Linked DNA regions of Homo sapiens: all the other regions are linked to region 3. The links are contacts of gene promoters, found by promoter capture Hi-C in blood cells and fetal thymus (Javierre and others, 2016). All regions are on one chromosome and are shown on one strand. The core of a region is centred on a gene start or on the middle of the fragment in contact, and the rest is flanking DNA. Distances in the headings are between cores, read along the strand shown. Region 1 has its middle 46 kb from the start of FAM136A. Region 2 has its middle 62 kb from the start of FAM136A. Region 3 holds the start of ADD2 (adducin 2). Region 4 has its middle 19 kb from the start of FAM136A. Region 5 has its middle 88 kb from the start of TGFA-IT1. Region 6 has its middle 64 kb from the start of TGFA-IT1.

Region 1 (2,806 bases), core at 204-2,703, 420 kb after region 3:
TTTCCTCAATATCTCCTGATTTCAGTGTTAACCTAATATGAAAAAATACCTTCCTAGCAACATCTAGATCACTGTTTGAGCCAATAACTGGGTACCATAGCCCAGCCAGGTTGACACTTTAAATTAACTACCACGTTCTCCATGTTTTTAGGTCTTCTTTGATGTCTTCCATAAAGGTTTTGCATATCTGCTTGTTAGACTTATTACTGGATTCATAGTTTTTGTTGCTGTTGGAAATAGTATACATATATTTCTAACTTTATATTGAGGTATAGCATTCATATGGCAAAGTGCACAAATCACAAATGTCCAACTTGATGAATTTTTGCAAACCTAACACATCCATAAAACTAGCAAACAGAAACACAGAACCTTACTAACATCCCAGAAGCCCACTTGTACCTTCCTCCAGTAGCTGTTCACCACCTTTCCCCCTCATCAAGAGTAACTGCCCTGACTTCTAACACCATGATTGGTTTTCCCTGGTTTGGGATTTGATATAAATCATAGAAAATGTGCTTTTTTTTTTAAAGCTGATCTCTTAACATTCTGTTTGATATTTTTTCATATTGGATGCAGTTGTTGGTTCGTTCTCACTGCTGTTTTGAATTCCATTGATTACACCAGTCTTCTGTCAGTTTATCCATTCTACCATTGGTGGGCATTTGGGAAGCTGTTTGGGGCTAATGCAAATGGTGTTACTCTGAATATGTTTTTGGTGAACATAAAGATATAGGAAATGATTGTACATATCATTTGGTGAAAGTAGAATATAGGAAATGATGTATTTTTAATTATAATTCTGTTATTTAAGATGTTTAGGACCACTACTGAGTTTTCTAAGTCAATCTTAATTTGTCATCTGAAGACTTTTTTGGAACATATATGTAGAGAGTCGTAACACCTGGGCAATATTTCCAAGCTTTGCTGTGGCATTTGACATTCGTCCCAGGTCACCAGAGAGGCAAAAGCACCACCGCCCAGAAAGGACTCCTTCTGATAGAGGAAAAACCCTTTAAACTCCTTTGTCCTCTGGCTGGCAGCTCTCTTTGACTCAAGGCAATCTTATGAAGAGGGAGTTCTAGTCAAATAGACATAACAATTCCTACACCTGTGTCCCAACCACACACTCTTCACCTTCTGAATTTGGCCTTTGTGGTAGGCAGAATAAGACTTTCCAAAAATGTCCATGTCCTAATCCTCAGAACCTGTGAATATGTTATCGTACCTGGTAAAAGGGACTTTGTGGACGTGAATAAATTAAGGATTTTGAGATGGGGAGGTTATCCTGGATTATCTGGGTGGGCCCAAAATAATCATAAGGTTCTTTATAAGACAAAGGCAGGAAGGTCAGAGTCATAGAAGAACATGTGATTATGGAAGCAGAAGTCATATTGGCAGATGCTACCTTTGCTGGCTTTGACAATGGAGGAAGGGAGCATGGGCCAAGGAATGCAGGTGGCCTCCAGCAGCTGTAAAAACAAGGAAAAAGATCCCCTAGAGCCTCCAGAAGGAATCAGCCCTTTTGTCCCTTGACATTAGCCCAGTGAGATTGATTTTAGACTTCTGATCTTCAGAACTGTAAGATAATAAATTTGTGTTGTTTTAAACTACTAAATTTACAGTAATTTATTATAGCAGCAATACAGACTTCATCCCCAGCTCCCCTGCCCCCAGGTAACTGGAGAGGGTGATTTCCTGCTTCCTGCAGAGCACCACTCCCAACCCCACCCCTGGTCCTCACTGCAGGACTTGGTAGATGAACAGGGCTCTCTACTAACTTTCTTTCACATATAGATGCACCTTGATTTACAATGGGGTTACATCCTGATAAACCCACCATAAGTTGAAAGTACTAAAAATCCAAAATGCATTGAATATGCCTAACCTACTGAACATCAGAGCTTAGCCTAGTCTACCTTAAAAGTCCTCAGAACACTTACATTACTCTACAGTTGAGCAAATCATTGAACACAAAGCTTATTTTATAATAGTGTTAAATATCTCATGTAATTTATTGAATACTATACTGAAGTTGGAAAACAGAATGGTTGTGTTAAACTAAACTAAAACTTAAAGCCCTTGGCATAAGCATTCTAGGATTTACAGTAGCAGTGGAACTTAATCTTATGACTAATAATCTCAAACTTGAATCCCCTTCACACACATATAAATTCTTCAACATATTAGGTTTCTTCCCATTACAATACACCACATGATATCATATTCAAACCTCACTGCAACCAAAATATAACATCTCTTCTATTAGACTTAATTGCAATAGAAAAAACAATATCAACAAATGTAGCCCAATTCCAAAAACTCAAAGTACAGTTTCTGCTGAATGTGTATCACTTTTGTACCATCTAAAGTCAAAAAATCCTAAATCAAACAATCCTAAGTCAGGGACCATCCACACAGTCTTCAAGAGGTCCCTGGTACAGGCAGGGCTGCCTGTCTCTCTTCTCTGTTCCCATGCTGGGGCCTCCCTGGTTGTTCCCTGCCCTCCCTCAGGTGCTGTCAGTCCACAGAGAGAAGAGAAGCCATGTTCAGAGGCATGGCCAGGTTCTAACAAAAGGGGAAGCCAGTAGCAGTGCCCAGGCTCAAAACCTTCCTCTAAAATCTCATCAGCACCCCCTCACCACCACCCCACACAAGCCACCTCCTAAAACACTCGGTGCAAAACCCTGCAATTGCAGCTTCAAGACAAGTTCCCTAACTCTGTTCCACTCTCTTCCAGCTGGATTGCATCCCCTAAATCCAGTGATCCAGAAATTCTGGAGCCTCCACCAGGAAGAGAGAGCAT
Region 2 (2,960 bases), core at 112-2,611, 400 kb after region 3:
CTTCACCCAAAGGTCCTGAATTCCTTGCTAAAGGATGATAAAGCTCAGAGCATACCTAACCATGGTGGACTTTCTGGTGGGAAGAAGAGCACTGAGGGTCAGGAGGCTCTCCCTCCTTCCATTCCCACCGTAATGGGAGCTGCCTACTGCTGAGAGGACCTTCCTATCTGTGAAGTCTGAACCACTCCTGGCCTGTAAGTTTGGCCAGAAAGCAGCTGTGTGTGGAAAGGGCCCCTGGAGGTTGGAATGCCATGAGGTTAATCCTGCCGTGGGGTCAGGCAGGCAGGAAGCACCATGGACGTGGGGAAAGCATCCTCTCATCCTTGTTCTCTTCTCACCATCTCACCAGGGGCAAAATTGAGGTAGGAAATTTGCATTCCGATCAGACAGTCTGAGACCACTGTCAGGCTCCAGTCCTCAAAGATTAAACAGGGATTCCACCCCCCAGCTGTGACTCCATTTTCTGACCACAGGGTCCTTATGTAGCTGCTTGGATCGCTGTAGCAAATCTCTATACCAAAGGCCCCAGTGTCCTTGGTAATGTGATGTCTCCTCTCATCAAGAGGTGGAGTCCAGCAGCCAGGGCAGCAGCTCACATCTGTAATCCCAGCACTTTGGGAGGCCAAGGCAGGAGGATTGTCTGAGCCCAGGAGTTTGAGGCCAGCCTGAGCAACATAGTGAGACCTCACCTCCACAAACGAAACAGTTAAATAAAGAGGTGGAGTATATGTCTCCACCCCCTTGAATCTGGGCAGTCCTTGTGACTTAGAATGTGGAGGAACTGTTCTATGCAAGTTCCGGAGCCTAGGCCTCAGAAGGCCTTGCAGCTTCCACCCTCGCTCTCATGCCGTCCAGTGAGTCTAGCATACTCCTGGAGAGCAAGGTGACCCGGCCAACAGCCAGAACCCCCTGTCAGATGTGTGAATGAGACAAGCTTGGCCCATGCAGCTCTTTGAGGTACCAGTGACTGTTCACAGCATTCGTGAGCCCAGGCAAGATCAGAGAAGACTGAGCGCTTGGCCCTCCACCCAGAAAAGTTGTCATCTAAATGTCCTCGGGTTTTACTCGTACTGTTAGCCTTGCCTAGATGAAGGGTCCTCAATCCAAGCTGCACATTAGAATACCCTGGGGAGTGGTTTTTTTTTTTTTCCTTCAAATCCCAAGGACACATCTAAAACCAAGCAAATCAGAATCTCTGGAGGTAGCACCCAGGCGTCAGTATTGTTTAAAGCTTCCAGGTGATGTCCATACACAATTAAGGCTGAGAGTCACTGGTATAGAAACTTGCTACTCAAAGTGAGTTCCCAGACCAGCAGCTCTGGAGCCACTTGGGAGCTTGTTAGAAACAGAATCTTGGGCCCCACGCCACAACAAGGTGCCCAGGTGATTGGAATGCCCATTAGAGTGCTGGCCTGGAGCACTGCCCACCGCGCCTTCCTCACTCCATCTGCCGAACTCACACTCACCCTCTCATTCTCTCAGTGAAGCTTTCCCAAACCACCCCACCCTAACTCAGGCGCATCCCATGCTGCTCTTGGGGCACCCTGTGCTAACTACTTCATGGCTTTTCCCACAACTGAGCTTCAATCATTGTGCACTGATTCTGTTGATGTCTGTGTCCTCTAGTAGAAGGTGAGTTCCCCTGGGGCAGGATTCAGTTCTGCCTTATCCACTATTGTGGCCTCAGCACCAAGAAATGTGCCTGACACATAGTAAGGCTTTAGTAAGTATTTATTGAATTTCAAAGTTACTCCTAGGCAGCACAGAGTTCTTCCAAATAGTGCTCACTATGAGACATCTATGGCTGTGGTGGAGAAGGTAATGGAGTAACAGGGATGAAGGCTTACTTGCTGTGAAAGGAGGTTTCCAGGGGTGTATGAGAAGTGGCATGGTAGCCCCTGGAGGTCGAGAATCTCCATGGTAAACTGATGGTGCTGGAGCCAGAAGGACATGGGAGCTGCAAGGGATGTAATGTACCACCTGGATGAGGGCAGCCACCGCCAGCAGGGGACAACAGGGCAAAGGAGGAAAGAGGTGAAATCTAGAATGGTGGAGGCTTAGGGGTGTTCAGTGATCACAGGATGCAGCACAGACAGGTTCCCATGGATGTGAGACACTCATTCTTGGTAGATTTATTGATCTCAGAATTTTCTTTCCAGACACATGCATGTACATACGTATCTCTTGCACCGGCAGTCTGGAGTCCTCTCCTCTCTCTGAGTAGAAAACTCTAGCTTTAGTAACACCTCAGTCCAACTGCAGAAATGCACCATGCTAAGACAAGGAACACAATTTTTTTTTCTATGAAAAGAGCTGTAGAAATACAATTTTTAATAGTGAACTGGAATGGGACATGCTGCTGAGATCAGACATGGATGAAGGATTGAGCTCCCCAGACTTGGGCCCCCAGCCCCTTGGATGTCAGCAAAGCGGTGGGTGCAGGGGTGAGCCAAAGTGGTCTCCCAAGTCCCTGATGAGCATACACTCCGTGGTGGCCCTGAGAAGGTGACAGTGGGGTTCCAAATGAACTTCTCTTCTCAGATGAGGATCGTTAGTTTGGAAACAATGAGGGGTTCATTCCACTTAAACTATAGTGAAGAGCCTGGTCTCCCACAGCATCGTGGCCACTAACCTTGTCACTCTTCTCACAGCCACCCCCAGCTTAAGGATTCACTCATTACTCATTCATTTGGCAAATATTTGCTCGGTATCCAACGCACTCAGGCACTGTGCTAAACCCTGGTGATACAGTGGTGAAATAAAGACTATCAGGGCCAGCTGCAGCAGCTCATGCCTGTAGTCCCAGCGCTTTGGGAGGACGAGGTGGGAGGATTGCTTGAGCCTAGGAGTTTGAGACCAGCCTGGGCAACATAGAAAGATCACATATCTACAAAAAAGAGAAAATAATTAGTGGAACATGATGGCGTGTGCCAGTAATCCCAGCTACTGTGGAGGCTGAG
Region 3 (2,728 bases), core at 114-2,613:
AGAAGTCTTGTGGACTCGGTGATTCTGAATGAGAATGAGTGAGAAGCTCTGAGTGTGGAAGGAGGGTGCAGGGACCAGGTATGCATGTATGTTTCTTGGAAGGGGGGCTGAAGCAGAAAGACAAGTTTATCCTGGCATCTAGGGTTGTCGTTAGCATTTTCTTTTCTAAATCAGTAGTAGCTCTCAGAGTGGTGTTTCTAAAGTGTTAGTGTGCAAAGGAATCACTAGGGCTGCTTGTTAAAATTACCAATCCTGAGCCTACCTCCAGAGATTCTGGTTCCACAGCAGCACTGTGGTGGGGGCCAGTGACTTTTGTGGGGGTGTCTGAGGGCTGTGGTGCCCCAGAACCTGGAAGGGCAGAGGGGCCATGATCAGGTTTCAGATCAGTGGCCAGAGGCTTTTCTGGAAGCTGTACATTTTCACAAGCACATTTTCAAAAGCCCTTGGAGAGGATGTTGATTGAGGGGAGTTTTGGGGACTGGTGGAGATTATGGGGGTGAAAAGTCCAGAGCTATCTCTTAACACCCCTACTCTCTGAGGGCCAGGCCTTGAAAGTATTGGAAATGGGAGGTGCCTTAGGTACACTGTCATTTTACAGAGGAAGACAACGAGGCCCAGAGAGGTTAAGTGGGTTGATTAAGGTCTCACAGCTAGTTAAGAGCAGCTCTGAGACGGCAACCGAAGTATTCTGGTTCCCTATCCAGTTCCCCACTCACTACACACCTGTTCCTTCTGGGGCGGGAGACCTGAGGAAGGAAAGGAGTGAGAGGAGAATGTAGTGAGAGTTGGAGAGCGTTGGGTCCACAGCCCCCAAGGGCAGGGCCACAACAAAAATGTTGTCCTGGTTGAAAAGGAGTGAGAATCAGGACAGGGAGAATTTTGGTTTGGAATTCAGTCAAACAATTGCTATTAAAATCACTAATAGAATTATCTTCCGAAGGCTAGCTGTCCTTTCCAGACGAAAAGAAATATTCCAAGTCTAAGACTTTTGCTTTCTTCCTTCCAGGGAGAATACATTCCCCCAAGGGAGCTCTGTTTCAGATTTTCTCCCTAGTAACAGACTCCCCTGCTTAGCTCTGGCCATCCCGGGTAGTGAGTGGTGCGGGGCGGGGGTGGAAGGGGGCTGGAAGCCTGGCTAGGGGGGTCTGCGGCGGCGCGGGCGGGGGCGCTGCGGGGAGGAGGGGGGCGCTGCGGGGCGGTAGTGGGGGTGCTGCGGGGCGAGGCCGCTGCGGGGCGGTGGGGGGCGCTGCGGGCGGGGGCACTGCAGCACCGCGGCCCTCGGGCGGCCGGCGCGGCCTGCTGGAGGGGGCGCTGTGGGCACCGCGCAGCGGCCTTTTGTCAGCGCGCAGGGCCAGGAGAGCTCTCATTTCCTCCCAGCCTCGTGCGGGAAATGGCTTTAATTCTGACGGCAGGGCTGTGAGGGACTAGCGGGAACCCGAGCCTTTTGTCAAGGAACTGCGGCGTCGGTGGCCAGTCATCCCCGCCGCCGCGGAGCCGCTGCACTGCTGGGGGATCTCCCAGCAGCTCTGACGAGCGCGGGCTGCAGCATGGGCAGAAAACGCTGCCCTGCAGATTAGCTGGGTGGATTTTTTAAGCGCACCCCACCCCCCAAACCCATAAAATAACAAAACCAACCCGCAGTGGCCGACCGGAGATAGCTAAGATGCCGCGCAGGAGGTAAGGGTCTGGGGAGCGGGCCTGGTGGGCTGCCTGGGGTCGCTGGTCTCCTGGCGCGGAGACCCTGGCATCCCTCGGCCGGGCGGGAGCCGCTTGGCCCAGGTGGGGCGCGTCTGTTGCCGAGCGCGTCGGTGCTGCAGCCCTGGCCGGCAGCGGTGTGTTTTGCGCCTAAAGGTTTCTGGTGATGATGTAGCATCCGAGGCTCTTAGGAAATCGGGGCTGCAAGCACTGGCCCCTGCTTGGGGATGGTGGGACCCTCGCCCGGAGCGTAACGCCTGACAGGTGGGGCTTTCTTTTGGGTCCGAATGGAGGGGCGGCAAGCCTCGCCTCGCCTAGCCGGGCGGGGCCGCTCCTCCCCTCCCCTCCCTCCCCTCCCCTCTCTTTCCTTCCCGCTCGGCCGCCGCCCTCCGGGGTAGCGGTGCGAGGCGGGCTTGGCGGGGCTGGGCGCGTCCCCCGGGGCCTCGCGATCGCTGGCTGCGCGGCGCTCAGCCGCAGTGGCCGGCCGAGCAGGTGCGGCGTCGGCAGCCGCCTACATTGAGATCGGGGCAACCGGCACGTGAGCGGGCCTCGTGGGTTTTGATTTTATGCGGCTCCACCACTTTGGAGGGAAAAATCCCACTGTACCCGAGGGGGTCTTGCCAGTCTGTTTCTTCCATCTTCCCTCTCCTCTCCCTGCCTCCCCTCCCTTTCTGCAGCCGGGGCGGAGGCCATCCCCGGTCCCGGAGGCGGGAGTCGGTGTCTGCTTATTTTTAAATCACACCACAGCCTACCTGGTGTTGGGGGGAAGGGAGGGAGGGGCAGACTGCTTTAGGATGCAGATCAGGCTCTCGGGTCTGGCCTATTGTCTTGCCTTTTCTCTTCCTTCCTTTTCTCACCCCTAATCTCCATCTCTTGCCCAAAACTAAAAATAGAAAATAGGAAATAGAAATAGAAAATAAAAAAGCAAGCTCCAGCCCACACCCTATCAAATTCTTTAAAAAACTGTCATTTATCTCTGACACATGATTAATACCCATCTGTTTCCTTACACCCACTCTTCCCTCTTGCTGTT
Region 4 (2,906 bases), core at 307-2,806, 450 kb after region 3:
GATGCTGCAATCCCTGATTTCTTTGGGTCTGCCTTTGCAAGGCTGCCCTCTTATTTGTAGCCTTTCTGGGTTGCTTTTGTTTTGAGTGTCTCTTAACAATGGCTGTACTTTGCTGCACACACACCAGCGGGATATGTTCCTGGTGAAAAGTGCATGTGTACTTCCAGAGCCTTAGCTGGTTTGTGTCCTACCTGAGTAGCCAATTAAACTCACCCTGCCCCACACACATGACTCTGTAACACAAGGCTCTCTGGCCGTCTACCACCTCTGGTATTTTCATCATCATAGCACTCAGGGTTTCCATGCCCTGACTCAACTTCCTTCTGTTTCTGTCTCAAGCTTTTCCACCATGCCCACCAGAATTAGTTTTGAGTGTAATAAATGCCCCCATACTGCCAACCTTTCTACTAAGGTTTCCTTCACCTCCTTGTCTTAACTGAAACCTAGATTTTCCCATAAGATCCCCACTTCTAAAACATTAAGTACTATGGAAACCACTACCACATTTCATTTCAAAGTGTTCTTTCCTTTTTATTTCATCTTCCTTCCTCTTTATGTACTCCATTAGGCAGATCCATCTTCATTTCTATTATCTCATTATCTTTTTTTTCCATTTCCTAGAAACTATGTTTTCTTGACTTTAAAGAACAAGGCAAGCCTCCTCACACCTGTGATCCCACCACTTTGGGAGGCCAAGATGGGTGGATCACCCAAAGTCAGGAGTTCAAGACCAGCCTGGCCAACGTGGCAAAACCCCATCTCTACTGAAAATAACAAAAATTAGCCAGGCATGGTGGCACACACCTATAATCCCAGCTACTTGGGAGGTTGAGGCCAGAGAATCGCTTAAACCTGGAAGGTGGAGGTTGCAGTGAGCAGAGATGGTGCCACTGCTCTCCAGCCTGGGTGACAGAACAAGACTCTGTCTCAAAAAAAAAAAAAAAGAAAAAAAGAAAAAAGAACAATGCAATGCAAGCCTGGACAACGAGGTGAGACCCTGTCTCTACAAAAAAATTAAAAATTAGCTGAGCATAGTGGTATGTGTCTGTAGTCCTAGCTACTAGGGAGGCTGTGCCTGGAGGATCACTTGAGCCCAGGAGTTTAAGGTTATCGTGAGCTTTTTTTTTTTTTTTTAAGAGACAGGGTCTCACTCTGTTGCCCAGGCTTCAGTGCAGTGGCACAATCATAGCTCACTGCAGCCTCAAGCTCCTGGGCTCAAGTGATCCTTCTGCCTCAACCTCCCAAAGTGCTGAGGATTACAGAGATGAGCCACTGAACCCAGCCTACAGTGAGCTATGATCACCTAGTGGCTCTTTAGCCCTTCTTAACATCCATAACAAATCTCACAACCTCCACTGTGTCTGCTGCCACAGTCAAGATGTTACGCAAGCAGCCCTCAGCCACCCGCCACCTCTTGCCTTCCTCTCTACCTCCCTCATCCAGCCGGATTACATCAGCTAACAACTCTTGGATCTGTGAAGAACTTTGCTGACACTCTAAACTGCTCCTCAAAAACTACTAAGAGATGGGGCATGGTGGCTCACGCCTGTAATCCCAGCACTTTGCAGGCTGAGGCAGGCAGATCACTTGAGGACGGGAGTTCGAGACCAGCCTAGCCAACATGGTGAAACCTCGTCTCTACTAAAAATACAAAAATTGGCCAGGCGCGGTGGCTCACACCTGTAATCCCAGCACTTCGGGAGGCCGAGGCGGGCAGATCACGAGGTCAGGAGATCGAGACCATCCTGACCACAGTGAAACCCCATCTCTACTAAAAATACAAAAAAGTAGGTGGGCGTGGTGGCGGGCGCCTGTAGTCCCAGCTACTCAGGAGGCTGAGGCAGGAGAATGGCGTGAACCCGGGAGGCAGAGCTTGCACTGAGCCGAGACTGCGCCACGGCACTCCAGCCTGGGCGACAGAGCAAGACCCCATCTCAAAAAACAAAACAAAACAAAAAATTAGCCGGACATGGTGGCAGTTGCCTGTAATCCCTGCTACTAGGGAGGCTGAGGCATGAGAATCACTTGAACCCGGGAGGTGGAGGTTGCAGTGAGCCTAGATCGTGCCACTGCACTCCAGCCTGGGTGACAGAGTGTGCCCTGTCTCAAAAAAAAAAAAAAAAAGTTACTAAGAGCTTGCTGCTTTGTTACTGCCCCCTGAGTCCCCACTGCCCTTGAATCCCACTGGCCTACAAGGGACACTTGTCAAGAAGCAGGAAGGCATGGTGGTTACAGGTATGGCCTCTGGAGCCAGACAGCCTGGGTTTGAATCCTGGCTTTACTACTTGCAAACACATGACCTTGTGTAAGGTGCTTAACTTTTCTGTTTCCTCATCTGTAAAATGCAGACAATAATAATAATACCATAGGATTAGAATGAGGATTTGAAGACATATTTCCAAAGCACCTAGAATAATGCCCGGCACATCGTAAGCCAGACGTTTGTAAATAAATAAATGAGACTCTGTGTACCAACGGAGCTATTTCCCCTATGTCCAGCATTGATCATGACATCCCCAGTCTTCTCCATTCATTTTCCTTTTAATTTTTTATTTTGAAATATTTTCGAGCACACAGGAAAGTAAACACAGAGACTAATACAGCCAATGCCTATGTGCTTATCAGGCAGACTAATTTTTAAAACATTTGTGTAGCAGAGAGAGAAATATGTGTATTTGTGTGTACATGTGTATTATTCTAAGATATAGAGACAGAGTTCTGCCTGAGGAGAAATGAGTTCTTTTACTTAACTTGAATATAAAAGTGAAGCTTCTAGGACTTGGGCTGGACAGGTGAAAGGAAAACACACAAAGAAGCCTGGGAGACTGGATCCAGAAAGGAAGATACGATAAGGGTGGAGGAAAGAAAGGCCAAACCTCATAGTGAGTAGAATGTTCTTCTCCACA
Region 5 (2,704 bases), core at 150-2,649, 370 kb after region 3:
CCATTAAAAAGTGGACAAAGGATATGAACAGACACTTCTCAAAAGAAGACATTCATGTGGCCAACAAACATATGAAAAAAAGCTAATCATCACTGATCACTAGAGAAATGCAAATCAAAACCACAATGAGCTACCATTTTATACCAGTCATAATGGTGATTATTAATAAGAAACAACAGATGCCAATGAGGTTGCAGAGAAAAAGAATGCTTTTACATTGTTAGTGGGAATGTAAATTAGTTCCACCATTGTGGAAGATAGTGTGGCAATTCCTCAAAGATCTAGAAACAAACACAGTTTGACCCAGCAATCCCATTACTGGGTATATGCCCAAAGGAATATAAATCATTCTGTTATAAAGATACAAGTCCACGTATGTTCATTATAGCACTATTCGCAATAACGAAGACGTGGAACCAACCCAAATGTCCATCAATGATAGACTGGATAAAGAAAATGTGGTACATATACACCATGGAATACTATACAGCCATAAAAAAGTAATGAGATCATGTCCTTTGCAGGGACATGAATGGAGCTGGAAGCCATTATCCTCAGCAAACTAACGCAAGAACTGAAAACCAAACACCACATGTTTCCTATTAAAAGTAGGAGCTGAATGATGAGAACACATGGACACATGGTGGGGACAGGGAACAACACACACTGGGGCCTGTCAGGGAGGGCAGGGGGAAGGGAGAGCATCAGGAAGAATAGCTAATGGATGCTGGGCTCAATACCTAGGTAACAGGTTGATCTGTGCAGCAAACCACCATGGCACACATTTACCTATGTAACAAACCTGTACATCCTGCACATGTACCCCAGAACTTAAAAGTTGAAGAAGAGGAGGAAGCCAGAGGGAGATTGACCCAGAAGAAGGGAAAAGCAATGTGATCCCAGAGGCAGAGAGTGGAGAAATGCGGCCAGCAATCAGGAGAAACTGGAGGAGGCAAGGAGACCCCAGAGACTCCAGAGAGAGCACAGACCCACTGACACCTTGATTTTAGTTCAGTGATACTGATGGCAGATTTCTGGCCCCTATAACTGTGAAAATAGATCTTTGTCAAAAATCGCCGAGTGTGGCAATTTGTTATAGCAGCCACAAGAAGCTAATGTGGAGAGTTATGTTCTACCTCCTTGAGGGTGCAGTGTCTATATAAATAATTTGAAATTCTTCTGCATTGGAGATTTGCCTCTTTGCCCACTTTGTTATTTATTCATTTATTTACAAAAATATATGAACTCATAAATATTTATACTTTGTGTTATAATCCATTACTGCTTTATTTTGTTCTCCACATTCTTTTGAGAGACACATGTCTTTCTCTTTGCAGGTAACCTACTACATCCACAGGTGCCTTGGGCAGGGCACATGAGAAGGTTCTAGAGATTAAATGGAGATTTAGAAGATGAGTTTGTCCACACCCAAGACAGTGACCTGCAGGCTGGGTGTGCAGATTTTGAAACAGAAACAGAGTAATAAACTTTCCATTAAAGCAAAAATGCAAAGGACAGTGTTACATGCACACATAAAATGGATTTTGCACACAAGTGACTAAATGGATAAATAATATCTCTAAAATATGCATCAAGTCTTCTCAGTAGTATAAGTTAACAAAATATCTTAGTTTATTCAGGCTGCTATAACAAAATACCTTAGACTGGGCAATTTATAAACAACAGAAATTTATTGCTCATGGTTCTGGAGGCTGGGAAGTCCAAGATCAAGGAGTCAGCAGATTTAGGTGGAAGGGAAAATCAAGCTCCCTCAAGCCTCTTTAACAAGAGACCCTAATCACACTCATGACAGCAGAGCCCTCATGACCTCATCATCTCCTAAAAGCCCCACCTCTTAATACTTGCAATGGAGATTAGGTTTCAACATATGGATTTTGGGGAGGACACAAACGTTCAGATCATAGCAACGTGGAATTTATAAGAATAAAAACTTAGTTTGGGTCTTGGTTGATGTCACTGATGGATTTTAGTCACCCTGAACTAACAAAAAACAGCAGCTATAGTCTATTTTCTTCAGAAAAACCTCAAAGCAAAGCGACTCCACACCTGTATGTCATTCTCACTCAAAAAATTTTCTGTTCCTTGCTGACAAGGTTTTCCTTGTTTCGAACAGAAGTCTCTTCAGCTTTAATTTCTATTTTCAGTCATCCAGAGATAGAACGAATATGTGTTTCCAAAAAAGTTTTAATGCCAAATTGGGTTGGGGACAAGGAGGGCTGCAAAGGCCATGGTACTTGAGGGAACAGTGAGAGGAAAGGGCCCTGGTCTAAGTGCTAGATACACAGGCCTTAGATTTCCTTCATGTGCCATTACTTTGCTGTGAACAAGATTGTTAATTTAAGAACATATTTCTCAAAGAAGGGAGAGATCACAGCCCAGTCTCCAGGAGTTAAAAGGGTAGTCTTTGGCATAGGACAGACCCGGGTTTTCGTTTTGGCTGTACCTCTTACCAGTTGTGAGATGTTGGGCAAGTTATCTCCCTGGGGCTCATTTTTCTCATCTGTAAAATAAAGACCATATCTATGTCATAGGTCATGTGAAGAGTATATGGAATCATGTTGACAGAACATGGCAAGCCCTGAACTGACCTTAACTAGACCTGGCAGTATATTAGGGTCCAATCCCCACCCTCTTCTCCCCTTCCCCCACTGCACAGGTGGGTTCCTGAATTGTTCTTGCTGCC
Region 6 (3,079 bases), core at 214-2,713, 350 kb after region 3:
GAGGTGCAAAGACACCCAGCTAGGTGCCCAGAGTAGCAGGCAGAATCCTTGCCTTCCATCCTGAAGGCCTCACATCCCCCTACCCTAGGGGATAGAGGTGCAAAGATACCACCTAGAGCTGTCCCTAGCTCCCAGACCTATCCCACCAGCCCTCTAGCAGTCTCCATCTGGCTTCAGGAAAGCTGTTGGAAAAAATTCAGGTGGATTCTGTTTTCTTCACAATACTAATTTGATAGGGTTTGAGGAGGAGCCCAGGAATTAGCCTTTGTTTGTTTGTTTGTTTTTCGTTTAACCTCTCTGGATGATGCTGATGGGCGGCTGAATTTAGGAACATGTTTTAGAGGCATCTAAAACATTTCCCTTTCTTTGAAACTCTGGCTCTCCTTAGCAGAACTGGTCTAGCCACCCACCTTAGCCTTCCCTGGGCTCTTCACACAGGCCCCCTAAGGGGCCCATACACATATGAAATCTATCACCCCCTTTACACATATCTCTTACCCCTCAAAAATAAGTAGAGGTTGGATCAACTGGGTCCAACTCCAAGCTTTGCTACTTACCAGCCCACGTCCCTGGGAAACTGACGAGCATTTGAGCCTCCGTTTCCTCAGCTGTAAGACGAAAATAATAATTATTGCCTAGGTTAACGAGGTTGAAAGGACCCAGGTGTGGGAAAGCACTACGCATGTGTACAGCATGGGCAAAGGCTACAATCGTTATTCACAGGTGTTGGTTCAGAGCTCTCCTCCCAGTGGGTGGTCCTCAAACTGGTTCCTGGCCTTTTAGAGACACCACAATGACCAGTGATATGGTTCGGCTCTGTGTTCCCACCCAAATCTCATGTCAAATTGTAATCCTCATTGCTGGAGGAGAGGCCTCGTGGGAGGTGATTGGATCATGGGGACGGACTTCCTCCTTGCTGTTCTGGTGACAGTGAGTGAGTTCTCGCGGGATCTGGTGGTTTAAAAGCGTGTAGCACGTCCCCCTTCACGCTCTGTAGCCTGCTTTGCTGGGTAAAGATGTGTCTGCTTCCCCTTCGCTTTCCTCCGTGATTTTAAGTTTCCTGAGGCCTCCCCAGCCATGCTTCCTGTACAGCCTGTAGAACTGTGAGTCAATTAAACCTCTTTTCTTATAAATTATCTAGTCTCAGGCAGTGCTTTATAGCAATGCAAGAACAGACTAATATAACCAGCATCCTTAATTCATTTCCAACCATTCCTCTAAATTTAAGGGATGGGGAGAGAGGAGGGTCGAAGGGCCTTGGGTGTGGGTGTGCCCTGCTTGGGTTAGGGGAACTCCATTTGAACAGTTGTCTTCACCACTCAAGAGTTCCTTTAGGAAAATCGTCCTATGCTGAAAACCAGGCTGGGGTAGGGGAGGGAGAATGCTGTGTGTGAAAGAAGTGATGAGTTACCACACTTCTAATAAGTTGAACCAGGCTTTAATTTTTTTTACTAAGCTACATTATTTGGGCTTTCACTAAAAAATTCTATTAATATTTTTAATGAGAAATGTGCTTGGGTATGCTTTATTACAGTTTGAAATCTTGTTTAATTCATTTTGATGCAGCATTTCCAAGATTTGTTCTAAAGTGGGCTTTTTTCAATACTTGTATTGATTGGCTATTATTGCTGGAAAAGATACTTCCCAAAGACACCTGCAGTACATCCAAATGGGAGAAGCGAATTGTGATATTCAGTGTTCAAACTGACACCAATTATACAAAGGCTTTTGTTGAAATGCAGCTGGTGAATTTATATATTCCTGACGCCAATTGTTCCACAAACTAATTGGAAGGTGTCACATTTTTACATTAACAAGGTTCAAAACTCACTGAAACTCTTCATTTAAAGATTTGTAAATACTGAGAAAAGCATGTTCCTAAGTTTTTTAAGAAGGCAGATCTGGGCATTTTTTTTAGGAGGCCCACTGCACTTTTTACTATAAAATTATATGACTACATTACCAAATACTCATCCTCAATTCTGTCTCCATAGCACAAGTTCCCGTCATCGCAAAGCAACTATTTTCTCCCTCATTGCTAGAGGATCACCATTACCTCAGAAGAACAAAATACCTGTGTTTATTGTTTTAAAAATTGCTTTTAGAAAGCACACTTCTAAGGGTCACTTGTCATCACTGATAAATGGGCAGCATATTCATAGCCCTTCTCTTTATAAAAGGAAATTTCTTGTTTTTAAGCATTCTGCCACAAGATAATCAGCTAATCTCTATGTGGTATAAAAGATGCTTGTAGTCACTACCCATCTCATTCAGAATATTAAGATTCCACTGTATTTTTATAGTCTTTTTTTTCATTATTACCAAATTGCTGATCTAGCACCTAGGGTACATATGGCTTCAACAGCATTATTGGAAAGCTTGCTTTTTAATAATATAGTGAATTAATTTCATCTAAGGTGTTACCTCTATAACCTTACTTCTGAATCCTCTTTTGTATGTTGTTCAAAGCAAACACTCGGTTAATGATTACACAATTTTTTCTAAAATTAAGTGTATTACAAAGCCACTCACTGTTGAAAAATATCCTTTGTATGATCTTCCTTTAGTAATTAAAAATTATGTCTTTTGGGTTCTTGTTTCCTGCTATAATTATGTATTTGTCTAGTCCTTCTCATTCCATCAGTATTTGTTTTATGTTTTTTGAAGCTTTTTATTGGGTACATAGATATTTAGGATTGTTATGTCTTCTTAATGTATTGACCCCTTTAACATATGTAACGTCCCCCTTGTTCTGAAGTCTACTTTGTCTCATATAGCCACTCTTTTATTATTACTTGCATGGCATTTTTCATGTATGTTTTTATATTTAAAGTAGGTTTTTTGTAGTCAGCATACGATCAGTCTTGCTTTTTTTTCCAATCTTACCACCTCTGTTTTTTATTTGGAATATTTAGATATTTGCATTTGATATAAATATGGTTGGACTAAATCGACCACCTGACAATTTGTCCTATCTGTTCTTTGTTCTTTTTCTCTCTTCCCGCCTTTTTTGGATTAACAGAGTGTTTTAATAATTATTTATCTCTACTACTGGCTTAATAATTACACCTCTTTGTTC

Evidence for each region. The method cuts DNA at HindIII sites, captures the fragments that hold promoters and counts their contacts. A CHiCAGO score of 5 or more calls a contact.
Region 1: a fragment that was not itself captured here is called in contact with the fragment with the promoter of ADD2 in region 3 in 11 of 17 cell types (M0 macrophages, M1 macrophages, M2 macrophages and 8 more); the score reaches 15.8 in M0 macrophages.
Region 2: a fragment that was not itself captured here is called in contact with the fragment with the promoter of ADD2 in region 3 in 3 of 17 cell types (M1 macrophages, M0 macrophages and M2 macrophages); the score reaches 10.1 in M1 macrophages.
Region 4: a fragment that was not itself captured here is called in contact with the fragment with the promoter of ADD2 in region 3 in 14 of 17 cell types (M1 macrophages, M2 macrophages, M0 macrophages and 11 more); the score reaches 22.7 in M1 macrophages.
Region 5: a fragment that was not itself captured here is called in contact with the fragment with the promoter of ADD2 in region 3 in 1 of 17 cell types (M2 macrophages); the score reaches 5.0 in M2 macrophages.
Region 6: a contact is called between a fragment that was not itself captured here and the fragment with the promoter of ADD2 in region 3, in 3 of 17 cell types (M1 macrophages, M2 macrophages and M0 macrophages). The highest score is 7.7, in M1 macrophages.

The regions. Positions count from the first base shown.
Region 1 is chr2:70,346,659-70,349,464 of GRCh38, reverse strand. It overlaps the pseudogene BRD7P6. Among named protein-coding and RNA genes, the nearest start is that of FAM136A, 46 kb to the right of the region's middle. The HindIII fragment of the contact is 1,057 bases long and covers 925-1,981 here.
Region 2 is chr2:70,362,592-70,365,551 of GRCh38, reverse strand. No RefSeq gene overlaps it. Among named protein-coding and RNA genes, the nearest start is that of FAM136A, 62 kb to the right of the region's middle. The HindIII fragment of the contact is 256 bases long and covers 1,234-1,489 here.
Region 3 is chr2:70,766,835-70,769,562 of GRCh38, reverse strand. It overlaps ADD2 (adducin 2), which reads left to right and starts at 1,363. Exons shown (of 16, transcript NM_001617.4): 1 at 1,363-1,677. RefSeq lists enhancers at 123-687, 1,097-1,662, 1,663-2,228. The HindIII fragment of the contact is 9,920 bases long and covers 1-2,728 here.
Region 4 is chr2:70,320,072-70,322,977 of GRCh38, reverse strand. No RefSeq gene overlaps it. Among named protein-coding and RNA genes, the nearest start is that of FAM136A, 19 kb to the right of the region's middle. The HindIII fragment of the contact is 2,430 bases long and covers 342-2,771 here.
Region 5 is chr2:70,392,455-70,395,158 of GRCh38, reverse strand. No RefSeq gene overlaps it. Among named protein-coding and RNA genes, the nearest start is that of TGFA-IT1, 88 kb to the left of the region's middle. The HindIII fragment of the contact is 5,769 bases long and covers 1-2,704 here.
Region 6 is chr2:70,416,479-70,419,557 of GRCh38, reverse strand. No RefSeq gene overlaps it. Among named protein-coding and RNA genes, the nearest start is that of TGFA-IT1, 64 kb to the left of the region's middle. The HindIII fragment of the contact is 1,834 bases long and covers 547-2,380 here.